4 separate regions of the Homo sapiens genome follow, and all the other regions are linked to region 4. Evidence: promoter capture Hi-C in human tissues and cell types (Jung and others, 2019). All regions are on one chromosome and are shown on one strand. The core of a region is centred on a gene start or on the middle of the fragment in contact, and the rest is flanking DNA. Distances in the headings are between cores, read along the strand shown. Region 1 has its middle 68 kb from the start of CBLN4. Region 2 has its middle 110 kb from the start of CBLN4. Region 3 has its middle 85 kb from the start of CBLN4. Region 4 holds the start of CBLN4 (cerebellin 4 precursor).

Evidence for each region. Contacts are between HindIII fragments. The study calls those that stand out against the background at their distance.
Region 1: a contact is called between a fragment that was not itself captured here and the fragment with the promoter of CBLN4 in region 4, in 2 of the 25 tissues and cell types used here (dorsolateral prefrontal cortex and mesendoderm cells).
Region 2: a contact is called between a fragment that was not itself captured here and the fragment with the promoter of CBLN4 in region 4, in 5 of the 25 tissues and cell types used here (dorsolateral prefrontal cortex, hippocampus, lymphoblastoid cells and 2 more).
Region 3: a contact is called between a fragment that was not itself captured here and the fragment with the promoter of CBLN4 in region 4, in 3 of the 25 tissues and cell types used here (dorsolateral prefrontal cortex, mesendoderm cells and stomach).

Annotation. Positions count from the first base shown.
Region 1 is chr20:56,072,264-56,075,158 of GRCh38, forward strand. No RefSeq gene overlaps it. Among named protein-coding and RNA genes, the nearest start is that of CBLN4, 68 kb to the left of the region's middle. The HindIII fragment of the contact is 4,553 bases long and covers 1-2,895 here.
Region 2 is chr20:56,113,565-56,116,302 of GRCh38, forward strand. No RefSeq gene overlaps it. Among named protein-coding and RNA genes, the nearest start is that of CBLN4, 110 kb to the left of the region's middle. The HindIII fragment of the contact is 6,021 bases long and covers 1-2,738 here.
Region 3 is chr20:56,088,773-56,091,780 of GRCh38, forward strand. No RefSeq gene overlaps it. Among named protein-coding and RNA genes, the nearest start is that of CBLN4, 85 kb to the left of the region's middle. The HindIII fragment of the contact is 4,002 bases long and covers 1-3,008 here.
Region 4 is chr20:56,004,011-56,007,045 of GRCh38, forward strand. CBLN4 (cerebellin 4 precursor) reads right to left here and starts at 1,509. Exons shown (of 3, transcript NM_080617.6): 1 at 1-1,509. The coding sequence starts at 161. The HindIII fragment of the contact is 15,736 bases long and covers 1-3,035 here.

The DNA.
Region 1 (2,895 bases), core at 254-2,753, 68 kb after region 4:
AAAATCCTGTAATTGGGTTGTGTTTTGTATAATTTGTACCAAGGAAAACATGAAGTTCAAAGCTATTGGGTAACTTGGCCCAAGTCCCATCCCTAGTAAATAAAAGAGCTGGAATTTGGACCCAGTCTGTCTGAATATAAATTCCTTTTTTTTTAGCTTTGTCACACCATAAGATGCCACATTAGAGAATCATTCCTATGCTTAACTCATTCTTGATCACAGGAGCCAGTGTGGGAAAGTGGTGACAGACTGGGCTTACTGCTTTGAAATAACAAATTTGGTAAAAGTCAAACGTGGTTATGAAATCCAAAGAGACTCGTTGATTAATGAGCAAATCTTCATCAATTCTAGATTGCACGTGAATAGAAGCACACAAATACACACAGGCAAACACTACGATGGGAGCACAAAGCCAATGAAAGAAAAGCTGCTCTCCGACTCCTCTCAAGTATCTTCTCTGCCAGTGTTTCCCTAGAACACGGAGGTTTGATTTGCATTATGTTAAGGAAATTTTTTTGTGATTTCACTCCCCAAAAAGTGTTCTCTGATTATTTAAGACTTACTACTCTGCTTTCTAGAAAGATTTAAAACACATGCAATTTGAACTTCCCCTATGTCGTTACAATCAGGCCACAAAGAATTTCCCATTTTGTATTTTAAACCATTAGATTAATAGTTTTTGATCTCAAATATGCACCACATCTGAGAAAGTATGTCATGCCTCCTTGGAAATAATAATTTTCAGGGGCTCCTCACATCATTCAAAAGACCAAAGCCTATTATTCAAAGTCCACCACTATTCGATCTCAAACCACACTCCCCAACCTTTCTCTCCACAACCAAATTACTAACTTGTTTCTCAAAGCCATCCCACATATTCTCACCTCTTCATCTGACTCTCTCCATTTATCCTGCCTAGTGGGCCTCCCCTTTCCCTCCTCCATCCTCCAGACTCAGCATGTATCTGAAGCCCATCATTCCACGGGAGCTCACCCCAGTGAATCCAATAGACACTGAACATAAGTTTGGCCCATTCATTGAGCAACTATTAATTCAACAAGTACTTACTAAGTCTCTCTATGATAGTCAGTGATCTGTTTGCACACATAAGCTTGTCTGCTCCACTAGACTATAAGCTCTTTGAAAATAAAGGTATGCCTTATTTACCTCATTAACTCCAGAATAACACCAGGTCAGGCACCCAGCACACTTTCAATAATGTTCACAACACAGTAATATTGCAGACATGATTACTTTGCTCTCTACAACTATAAGACACTGGAACTCATCCAAATGCCCAACCACTGAAGAATGGTAAAGTAGATTAAGATACATCAAGAAGCAGAAAATTAGGAAGTATGTAAGCAATCATTACAAACACTATGGCTCCTTCTCCTCTTGCAAATCATCCACACCAATTCCCATTCTCTTCACTCTGGAAAAACTGACTTCTCTTAACTCACATCCTCACTATACCCAGGACAGACTTTTTATAAGAACATTCACAGCATGCTAGAATTACATTCTTATGGGGAGAAGTATAGATTTGGACGAGATACCTTCATTAGCCACTTGAATAAACGATGAACCCCAAAGAGCATTCTAGGTTATTAAGAAAAGACTGTGAAACCACCTTCTAAGGAAAATCGGAGACTTTGGGTTTGTAGAAATATGGGCATTCAAGTTTGGTAGTAAAGCTGAACTGCTCAGATAACAGAAAAAAAAGACCAAATGCTCTGTAAAGGAAGCATGAAGGAGAAAGAAAGAAAAATGCCAGTAAGGATATAGGAGAGAGAAATTATGGAACTCAATGAGATGTAGTGAAGGTTTTGAGGAATTTATTATCAGGCATGTGATGGAAGGCTAGCTCTCCATTGGTCTCTTCTGTTTCTGCACTGACCTTTGTCTCAGACTGTCTTTCCAAGGACACTTGTATAGCAAAGAGCTTTGGAAGTTAGAGGCAGTGTCTCCTTCCAGAGCAAATGGCAGATTTGTTCATTTCTAATATAAAAAAGACAATGTTTACCCCAAGGCAAATATCTGGCAGGCTTATTGCCCATTAGAAAATATTCAAGTTTCAGCTGAGCATGGTGTTTTGGGCCTATAATCCCAGCTACTCAGGAGGTTGAAGCAAGAGGATCACTTGAGAGACTAGGACTTCGAAACTAGCCTGGGCAACACAGGGAAACCTCTCTCTTAAAAACTAAAAAAAAAAAAAAAAAAAAAAAAAAAAGCCAGGCATGGTGGCATGGTGAAGCCTGTAGTCCCAGCTACTAGGCAGGCTGATGTGGAAGGATTACTTCAACGCTATAGTGAACTATGATCACACCACTGCCTCCTGCCTGGGTGACTTCATCTCTAAAAAAATTAAAAAACTAAATTCTAAAAAATTCAAGTTTCCTAAATTTGGTATTCTTCTCTTGTAACCAATGTGCTGCATGTGCAGATGTTATCTGGCTCTCTTTGTGTCACCCTGTGGGATTTGGCTCAGGCAACAAAAAAAGATGCTGATACTCTGACAATTATTATTGCTATGAATAACAAAATGCCTTTTGTCTCTGACCCAGGAGTTTCATGTCTTCTGCTAGCATCCACGAAACTGTGGCAGGCCACACAAAAGTATAATGAGATCCAAAGATCTTGAAAGTGTGTTGACGTAAACACTTTCTTAAATCTAGCCTATGAAATCTTAAGTAAGTTTTGCATTGTTTACCAATGTTTCTGTTGTAGATGGCTTGTTTTGGGAGAATGCAGAGTTTCTAGAGTCAGTGTCTAGATTGATACATTAAAAAATCAGAGAAATCACCATGTGGACAGTGGAAGTAGACCTTGAGGATACACTTAAATAGTTGAGAGATCTTTCCTATTCTGAGCTTCGTGAAGGAAGAGATCATA
Region 2 (2,738 bases), core at 90-2,589, 110 kb after region 4:
AGTATAAGCTTAAGAGGAGAGAAGAAAACAAGGACAAATTTGAAGCCTCTGGTATCTACAGTTACAGCAAACATTAAACACAAAACAGTCAGATTCTTATCCATATTATGACAAATCCACACAGTAAAGGCCTATTCACGTCAGCTCCTAATACCAAGAAAAGCATGGTCTGAAGAGTCAAAGCGAGTATCAGAACCAGACTCAGATATGACACCGATGTTGGAATTATCAGATAAAAAATGTTGAATAACTGTAACTAATGTGTTAACCCCTTATTCTCAAAAAAAGAAGACAACATGCAAGAATCAAATGGAAATTAAAAACACAGCACCAGAAATGAAGAAAGCCTTTGACAAGCTCATCAGTAAACTGAACACAGACAAAGAAAAAAATCAGCAAGCTTGAAGATAGGTCAAAGAAACTTCCCAACCTGAAATGCAAAGACAAAAGAAAATTGAAGAAAAAAAAAAGTAGAAAACAGAGTAAATACTGTGGTACAATTACAAAAGGTGTAACATATTTGTAATTGGATACCAAAAGGAAAAGAAAGAGAAAAAGGAGCAGAAGAAATAATTGAATTATGGCTGAGAACTCCACAAAATTAATGATAGACACCAAACCACACATAGAGGAAGCGCTGAAAACAACAATTGGAATAAATACCAAAATACGCACACACATGCACACACAAATACACACACACACAGGCATATCATATTCAAACGGCAGAAAATGAGAAACAGAGAGAAATCTCAAAAAAGCCATAGAGGGAGAAAGCATCTCACCTATGAAGGAACAAATATATGTATTACAGTAGACTTCACTTCAGAAACCATGCAAGCCAGAAAAGAGTGGAATAAAATATTTAAAGTGTTGGGGGGTGGAATTCTAAAATTCTATACCCAGTGAAATTATCTTTCAAAAGCAAAGAGAAATAAGCTTTATCAACAAATAAAAATTGAAAGACTTTATCTTCAACAGACCTGCCCTGGAAGAAATGTTAAAAGTTCTTCAGGCAGAAGGAAAATGATACAGATCGGAAAACTGAATCCACATAAAGAAAGGAAGAGCATCATAAAAGAAATAAATGAAGAGAAAATTTCTGGGTTTTTATGTTAGTCAGTGCTCCCATTGCTATAAAGAAATACCTGAGACTGGGTAATTTATAAAGAAAAGAGGTTTAATTGACTCATGGTTAGGCAGGCTGTACAGGAAGCATGATGCTGACATCTGCTCAGGTTCTCAGGAGGACTCAGGAAGTTTCCAATCGTGGTGGAAGCGGAAGGGGAAGCAGACATGTCACGTGGCCAGAGCAGGAGCAAGAGACAGAACGGGGAGGTGCTGCAGTTTTAAATGACCAGATCTCACAAGAGCTCACTCACTATTGTGAGGACAGTTCCAAGGGTGATGATGCTAAACCATTCATGAAAAATTTACCCCCATGATCCAATCACCTCCCACCAGGCCCCACCACCAACACTGGGATTACATTTCAATATGAGATTTGGGTGGGGACAAATATCCAAACTATATCAGTTTCCTTATGTTTAATTCATCTAACAGATAAGCATCCGTCTAAAGTAATAATAGTAACAATGTATTTGGTGATTATAGCATATGGGTAAGTGAAATGAATTATAGTAACATCACAGAGACAGGAGGGAAGAAATGGGCAAACTCTGTTATAACGCACATGAAGCATATACTGTTATTTGAATATGGATCTAGATTAGTTAAAATATGTGCATATATATATAATTCTTTTTTTGTTTTTTGTTTTTTGTTTTTTTATGGAGTGTTGCTCTGCTGCTCAGGCTGGAGTGCAGTGGTGCAATCTCGGCTCACTGCAAACTTTGCCTCCCAGGTTCAAGCAATTCCCTGCTTCAGCCTCCCAAGTAGCTGGGATTACAAGCACCTGCCATCACGCCTGGCTAATTTTTTGTATTTTTAGTAGAGGCAGGGTTTCATCATCTGGGCCAAGCTGGTCTTGAACTCCTGACCTTGTGGTCTACCCGCAAACATTAAATCTGTATTGCATATCATTTCCACCTGAATGTAAGCACCATGTGGCAGGGAGCTCATCTCACTCAGCTCTAAGTCTCTAGTGCCAGACACATCACAAGCTGCATGAAATATATGTTGGGTGGAATGCTTGATGGTTGGGCAGATGGACACTTGGATAGGTGAACAAATGAATTGATGATATGTGATCCATGCTCCCATGGGAATTCTAACACAGCAATCTCTAAATTTTTTTGCAGAATCTAATACCATATGATGTTAATAGCTGTGCCATGGTGTTAAAAGTTCTTCTATGCTCAAAAAATCTTTTAGAGAAATGCTCACTTAAGGAAATTAAACAGATTTCTTGACTGTGAGAGAATGGAGACCATGCACTTTTCTCTTCCTAGAATTTAGCACAGCTGTTATTAGGCACTCAGTAAGATAATGACACGAATAAAATCATCATAGAGTAATTCACTCGTATTCATTCATTCCACAGGTATGCATTCAGCACCCACCATATTACAGACACTGAGCCAGGGTATAATGGGAGCAAAAATGAACAGAGACTCTGCCTTCATGGAGGGTATAGCATGGTAGAAGACAGACATTATTCCAATAGTTTCACAAAGAATTGTAAAATTACAATGAAGGGAGGCAGGGGAGGGAGGGAGAGCATCAGGATGAACAGTTAATGCATGCGGGGCTTAATACCTAGGTGAGGGGTTGATAGG
Region 3 (3,008 bases), core at 32-2,531, 85 kb after region 4:
CATTGTTCAGATTGCTTCTTGCACAACTGCAGGGACTCCTATTACTCTATAGACACTGTACATTTGTACAGTTACAAGTTTTCAACAGACAACAACAAAGTATATTGAGAAGGGGACACCAGTTGAAATTTTCATTAGACTTTTAGCTGCAGAGAAGTTTAAAGTGGTTGATATGTCAACTGAGTATTCCAGTTATTCCATAATAGAATAGAGTCATCTCCCTACTAAAAGCCATCCTGTCTGTCCCTTTTGGGAATTTTTTTCAGCTCTGGGAACTATCCCATGGATCTAAAAGCAGCATAAGCCACATACTACAGTGGCTGAGAATATGGGCATTCATTTCAGCCAAAATGTGTTGTAACCCCAGTTCCCCCATTTATTAGCAGTACTACCTTGGGTAACTTACTCAACCCTCTGAGAATTCTCTTTGTAGAATGAGAGTAAATCTACCTGTTTAAATGGGGTTTTGATGAGGTTGGCATAAGATAATATATGTAAAGTGCATATATTACATGCCTAGTAAATGATAAATAATATCAGTATCATGAATTACCATTACATACCATCATCAGTATTGTTGTTATTGGCAATAATGCATCTAACCATTAAAAATCCTCTAGTACAACACTGTCAATTTTTGACAAAGATAGAAAGTTCTTTATATTTGCTGTCTAATATGGTATCTACTAGCTACGTGTAGATATTGAGTACTTAATGCTGGATAGCAAAGCTACAACAAGGATTACTTATTGGGAAATCTCTCAAAAATTTTGCTCGCCATGAAGTGAAGAAACTCCCAAGATCAAGTCTGCGAAGGCAGCATCTTCACCAGGAGAATTAATGAATGATCCTTGGTCCTAAACAGATGATCTGTCCCAAGATACTGCTTGGCCCATTTACTCACCTCATTTAAACCCTACTCGCTGGCTCCTCTGAAGAGGGCCTTTCCCTGACCACCAACCATCCCACCCCTCTCTGTCACTTGCCTCTACACACTGTATTTCTTGGCCTCTCTGATGCTGTATCTTTATTAGTGGCTTTGTTCAAATCTGTGCCCTGCTACTCGCATGCAAACTCCATGAAGGTACGTTTCTTATCTGCTTTGATCACCGGTTGATCTCAGTACCAAGAATGTGCATATTGTAGGGTTTCAGTAAGTATTTGTTGAACTTAATTAAACAGGTTATCTGAAAGAAGGCCAGAGGCTGATCTTTTATAAGAAGCAGAATACTTTTGTAAAATTAAACACTCCCCTCTTCCAGTCTCCAACCCCCAAGCCCTACATGTTCAGACAAGGGCCTGGGATTCTCTGGAGACCACCAGTACCAGCTCTGTAACTCCCAACCCACAGGTCTCAGGCGAGGCACTTCATTGCCAGTGTGGAGAAAGTGTTTTATATTCTAAACAAGACCCAACATTTAACAACCTCCTGTTCTTCTCTCTCAATAGCTTACTCTCCTTCCAGCAAATGTGATTAAGCATTCACGGCCATGGGTGTACATTTTTATTAGGGCTATGACAAGTGATTCAGAGGTAATTAAGCAATGGAATGTTTCACACAATGCCCACTTCACTTAAGGAATAAACTCTACACGTTGTTGGATTAACTGGAAAAAAAGGAAAAAGAAACTATTCAGAAAGCATCAACTTCTATAAGGAACTATTGGCCCTATTTTGGGGGTTTTCATAAGAAAGTGAAATTTTTCATTTATATAGAAGCATGAGGAAGAATTTAAAAGTCCATGTAAACACACACACACACACACACACACACACCAGTCATTTATTGCAGCCTGTTTTTTTTTCTCTTTCTGCAAAGAATCACCATCTTAAGTGTACAACCATAGAAAAATGAGTAAATAAATTGGAGAATATATGGAATTTTATGTAGCATTGAAAAGAATGAGGTAGAATGATATACGCTTAGATGGGAAGATGCTATATTAATATGACAAAAAAGTTGTAGTATAATTATTTTAAAAATAAATGTCATTAGTATATGTTTATATGTGCATTGAAAAATTCTTTAAGGACATGTCAAACTGTTACAAGTGGCACCTAGGAAGTGGATTTGGGCCTGAAATTACAACAGGCTTGTATTATTTTTGCAATTATAAAATATATTTAAACATTTTAATTTTTTTAAATGAGCTAAAAATTTTTTTAAAGAGTCAAAAAATTACAGGAATAGCCTGATAGTTGCAAGGGAGCAGGATGGCACTGACAAGGTATTTCCTCTTCACCCTTCCTATCCTCAAGCCCCATCACACACACATGCATGCACACACCCCATTTCATGAGGTGTTGAAGGAACTAGTGACACTCAGAAAAACTGTTACTCAATGTTCTTAAAGAAGCCCATGTCTTGCAGAATAAGATTCCAATTATGCAACTTAGAATCACTGACTATTTTTAATTGAATTGACCAATTTCCATAGTCAATTACACAAACTAGTCGTTTTGATATTACAACTTCACTGTGAAGGTCTCGTGACTATTTCACTCTTGACCCAGGTAGTTGCCCAGAGAGCTCCCTACAGATCTCCCTGTCTAAGCCTCATCCAGAAGGAAAGCTTACCAGGGTAAGGCTTGAGACCATGATTCTACTCAAAAGGTAAATTGGTTAGCATCATCTTTTGAGCTCAAGAAACCCCAAGATAACACTGACAACCACGATGAATTTCTTCTAAGCCAAGGTGCAAAGTGAGATGGCACAATGTGAAGCGACCCTTGTGAAAGAATAATAGCCACAACAAAAATAACCAGAAGATATTGAACAGAAAGTGTACATCTTTCTTATGTCATCTTTTGAGTTCAGATTCCCTTTTATTTTCCTCTCTGAACAGTAAAAGGTATACGCTATCAAAACAGGGATGAGAAATTTTAAGAGACTGAGATTTTTAGCAGATGATATGACTACATCTCAGGGTATCTGAACAACCCATATCTCCTTCAGGCAGAGGGCTGTCCTGGTCACAGACTCTGCTTTGCTGGATGTCTACATTTCT
Region 4 (3,035 bases), core at 259-2,758:
CCCTTGGAGTCCGTGGCCGGGTTCGAGTCGCACACCACCAGACACTTGCCCTCCAGCACGATGGGCTCCGTGTCGTTCTGTGCCCAGACGGGCAGCCCCGGCAGCGTGAGGACCAGCAGCACGGCCGGCACCGCGGACAGCGCCCGGCGCCCGGAGCCCATGGTGAGCCGTGTGGGCAGCCGCAGCCGGCTGGCGCTGGTGCTCGCCCGCGTCGCCTCCTACCCCGGGATCCCGGTGCTCGGGAAGATGCTAGCGGCTAGGTCGACAGCGCTGCAGGAGCGACGGCGGCGGCGGCGCGCACACTTCCACCAATTCTGTGGCTTGAAGTCAAAGTCTCCCCTCGAGCTCTCTCGCTGGCTCTGTTACCTTTGTCCTTTAAGGAGCTCATGCAGCACCCTTTACCCTACTCTCCTCCGCCCAAGAATCAGCCCTGCCTGGGGCCCCTGCACCCACTCTGGTTCCTAGACATCTGAAAGTCATCAAACCCTCACATTCACACCTCAAGGCAAAAAATAATAATAATAATAAATTCTCACCCCAAACTCAAGCACCACCAGCTAAACCACGGAGCAGGAACAAAAAGAGGGGACTCAAAGAGAAGCCACAAGGGTGGCGGGTGCCCAGCGGCGCGGGTGCCAGTCCTGTCTGGCTTGCGGCAGGGACGAGTTACAGAGGCAGAAGGTCCTTCCCAGGCTGAGAAGAACGCGAGGCTGTGTTCATGGCCAGGACGCCAGCGACTCCCACTTTCGCCTGGTCAAAAAAATCCCCCAAACCTGGTGTCACCCAGAGGTAGGGAGGGAGGCAGCGGCTAGCCAGGTCCCTCGCACCGAAAGCGCGGATTCGCAGGATCAGGTCCAGGGCGCCGGGCGCAGCGTTCAGGGCGGCTGGTCCGGCGGGGTCCTCTCCTGCCTGGCCGCCCGCCCCCAGTCCCTGCGCACAACTTTCTCGTCCCTCGTGCAGCCCGGAGAGCGCGAAGCGGGCACACGCGCTCTATTTATAGGAGCGCAGCGTCCGGCTGGGTTGGCTTATCGCGCAACCCGCGGGCTCCGAGAAAAGGGGGAGAAGGCGTCTGGTGACCCCATCTGAGCAGCTCTCTCCTGACGTTTAACGCACCCCAAAGCAAGCGGGGCGCACAGCACTGGTGATTGGCAAGGTTCGAGGCCCCTCAGCCCCTGAAAGCCCGTGGCGTAAAGGATGCGTGCCCAGAGAGGAGCCCACGGCCCTGCGCTGGCCCCAGCTCCGCGCCCACTCTCTCCTGCTCGATCTGAGTCCGCAGAGGAGGCGGCTGGTCCCCTCACCCCTCCCAGCGCGGAACTCTGCCGCCGAGTGCCCTCCAAGCGGAGCGCGGCGCTGCCAGGCCGGGTCGCGAAAAAGGATAAGCCGCCGCGGACCCGCGCTGCGCGCTGCCCCGAACCTGGGGACCGGCGGGCGTCCCGACCGCGCCTGGCCGGGAGCCCGCCCCACACAGCCCTGGGGCCTGGCGAGCTCAGGGAAGCCTTGGGGCGGACCAGAGCCCGTGGGGGCGGCTGGGAGGAGGTGCCTGATTCCTTCCTTCCGCTCCGGGAAGATGAGCCTCAGAAGCCGCAGGGGCGCGCCTTCCCCCCACACCGCGAATCCTCCCCAGGCATGGCCAAAAAAAAGAGTGGGAGAGGGAGTTAACTCAGCAAGAATAAGTCCTCCGAAACCGTGCCAACAACAATAAAAAAATAAAAATAAAAATAAAAATAAAAGACAATCCCACTCCTAGGAATACAGCATTTTTCTCCCCTTTGGATGCGCTTTCCGCCCCCGTGCCACTCCACTGCTATCTTGGCCTCTGATTTGCAAGAGTTCCCTTCCTCTTCTGCAGCTACCACGGGGAAGGGAGGTTTGTCTCTGTCTGGACCCGGCTGCGTGAACTTGGCCGAGTCACTAACCCTCTCTGAGAGGGGGGCGCGGCGTTAACTAAGGTCCTCCCCACCCCCATCCCGCCAGCTTTCCAATTCTGTGATGCTGTGGGGTCATGGCGCCCCTTCCCCAATTTCTTCTACACTTCCAGCTGCCAGAGGGCAGACACGTATGGTATCTTTAACCAAAACAGTATCCCCTCCAGGCATTCGGAGCTCCTAAAATGGCATTGGCTAGTTATGAATGGAAGGGATGTTTATTGAGGGAGGTCCTTGGGATGGACGGCTCCCATTCCTTCCTGAGTGAAGGACGCCCTCATGAGCGTGGCATTCGAGCCCTCCACAAAACAAGGTGAACCTCGTCTCCAGCCTTTTTCCCTTCCTTCAGAAGGGCCGGGCATTGAGCTATAAGCACCAGCTCCAACTGTTAAAATTGAAGACACTACGAGGAATCCCCTAACCCTCACCTCCCTATAATCTCTCAACTAAAGTGTTAATACTTGGTGCCACAGGGGCCTTCAGATTCTGCTCCAGTGGGGCCAGTATCAGGTGTTTTGACTTTATGATTTTATTTTACTTGTGGTGGGGGGTGGTCTCGCTATATTGCCCAGGCTAGATGCAAAACTACTGGGCTCAAGCGATTCTACTACCTCAGCCTCCCCAGTAGCTGAGACTACAGGCCGGTGTCAGTTCCGGCTGGCAGGTGCTAGTACCATGCTATTTGTTAAAATGTTGAAAGTTACCTATCTAAGCTACAACCAAACAAGGTGAACTAGTGCCTTCTGAAGATGGCCACCATTTACCCAGCTTTGATGCCCCACCCTAAGCCCAGCACAATCTTCACCTGATCCCTCTCTGCACTTTGTAACTCTCTTCCAGATTTTAGGGATGTCTGCCTGGTTAACAGCAGCAATTTCTTCTCATTTGATGCAGTCTTTTGAGGGTGGGTGCTGAGTTGAATTTAGTTCCTTTTATTTCCTGTAGGGGTAAGCACCCTGCCTTCCTTGTCTGGGACAGCTGTTCAATAACTAGAACTTTGGTTGTTCAATTTCAGGCTGGGAGAAGTTTGACAAAAAAAAAAAAAAAAAAAAAAAAAAAACTGTGTTGAATTGTTAAATAGAAAATAAGCTATCTTCCTCACCAATTCCA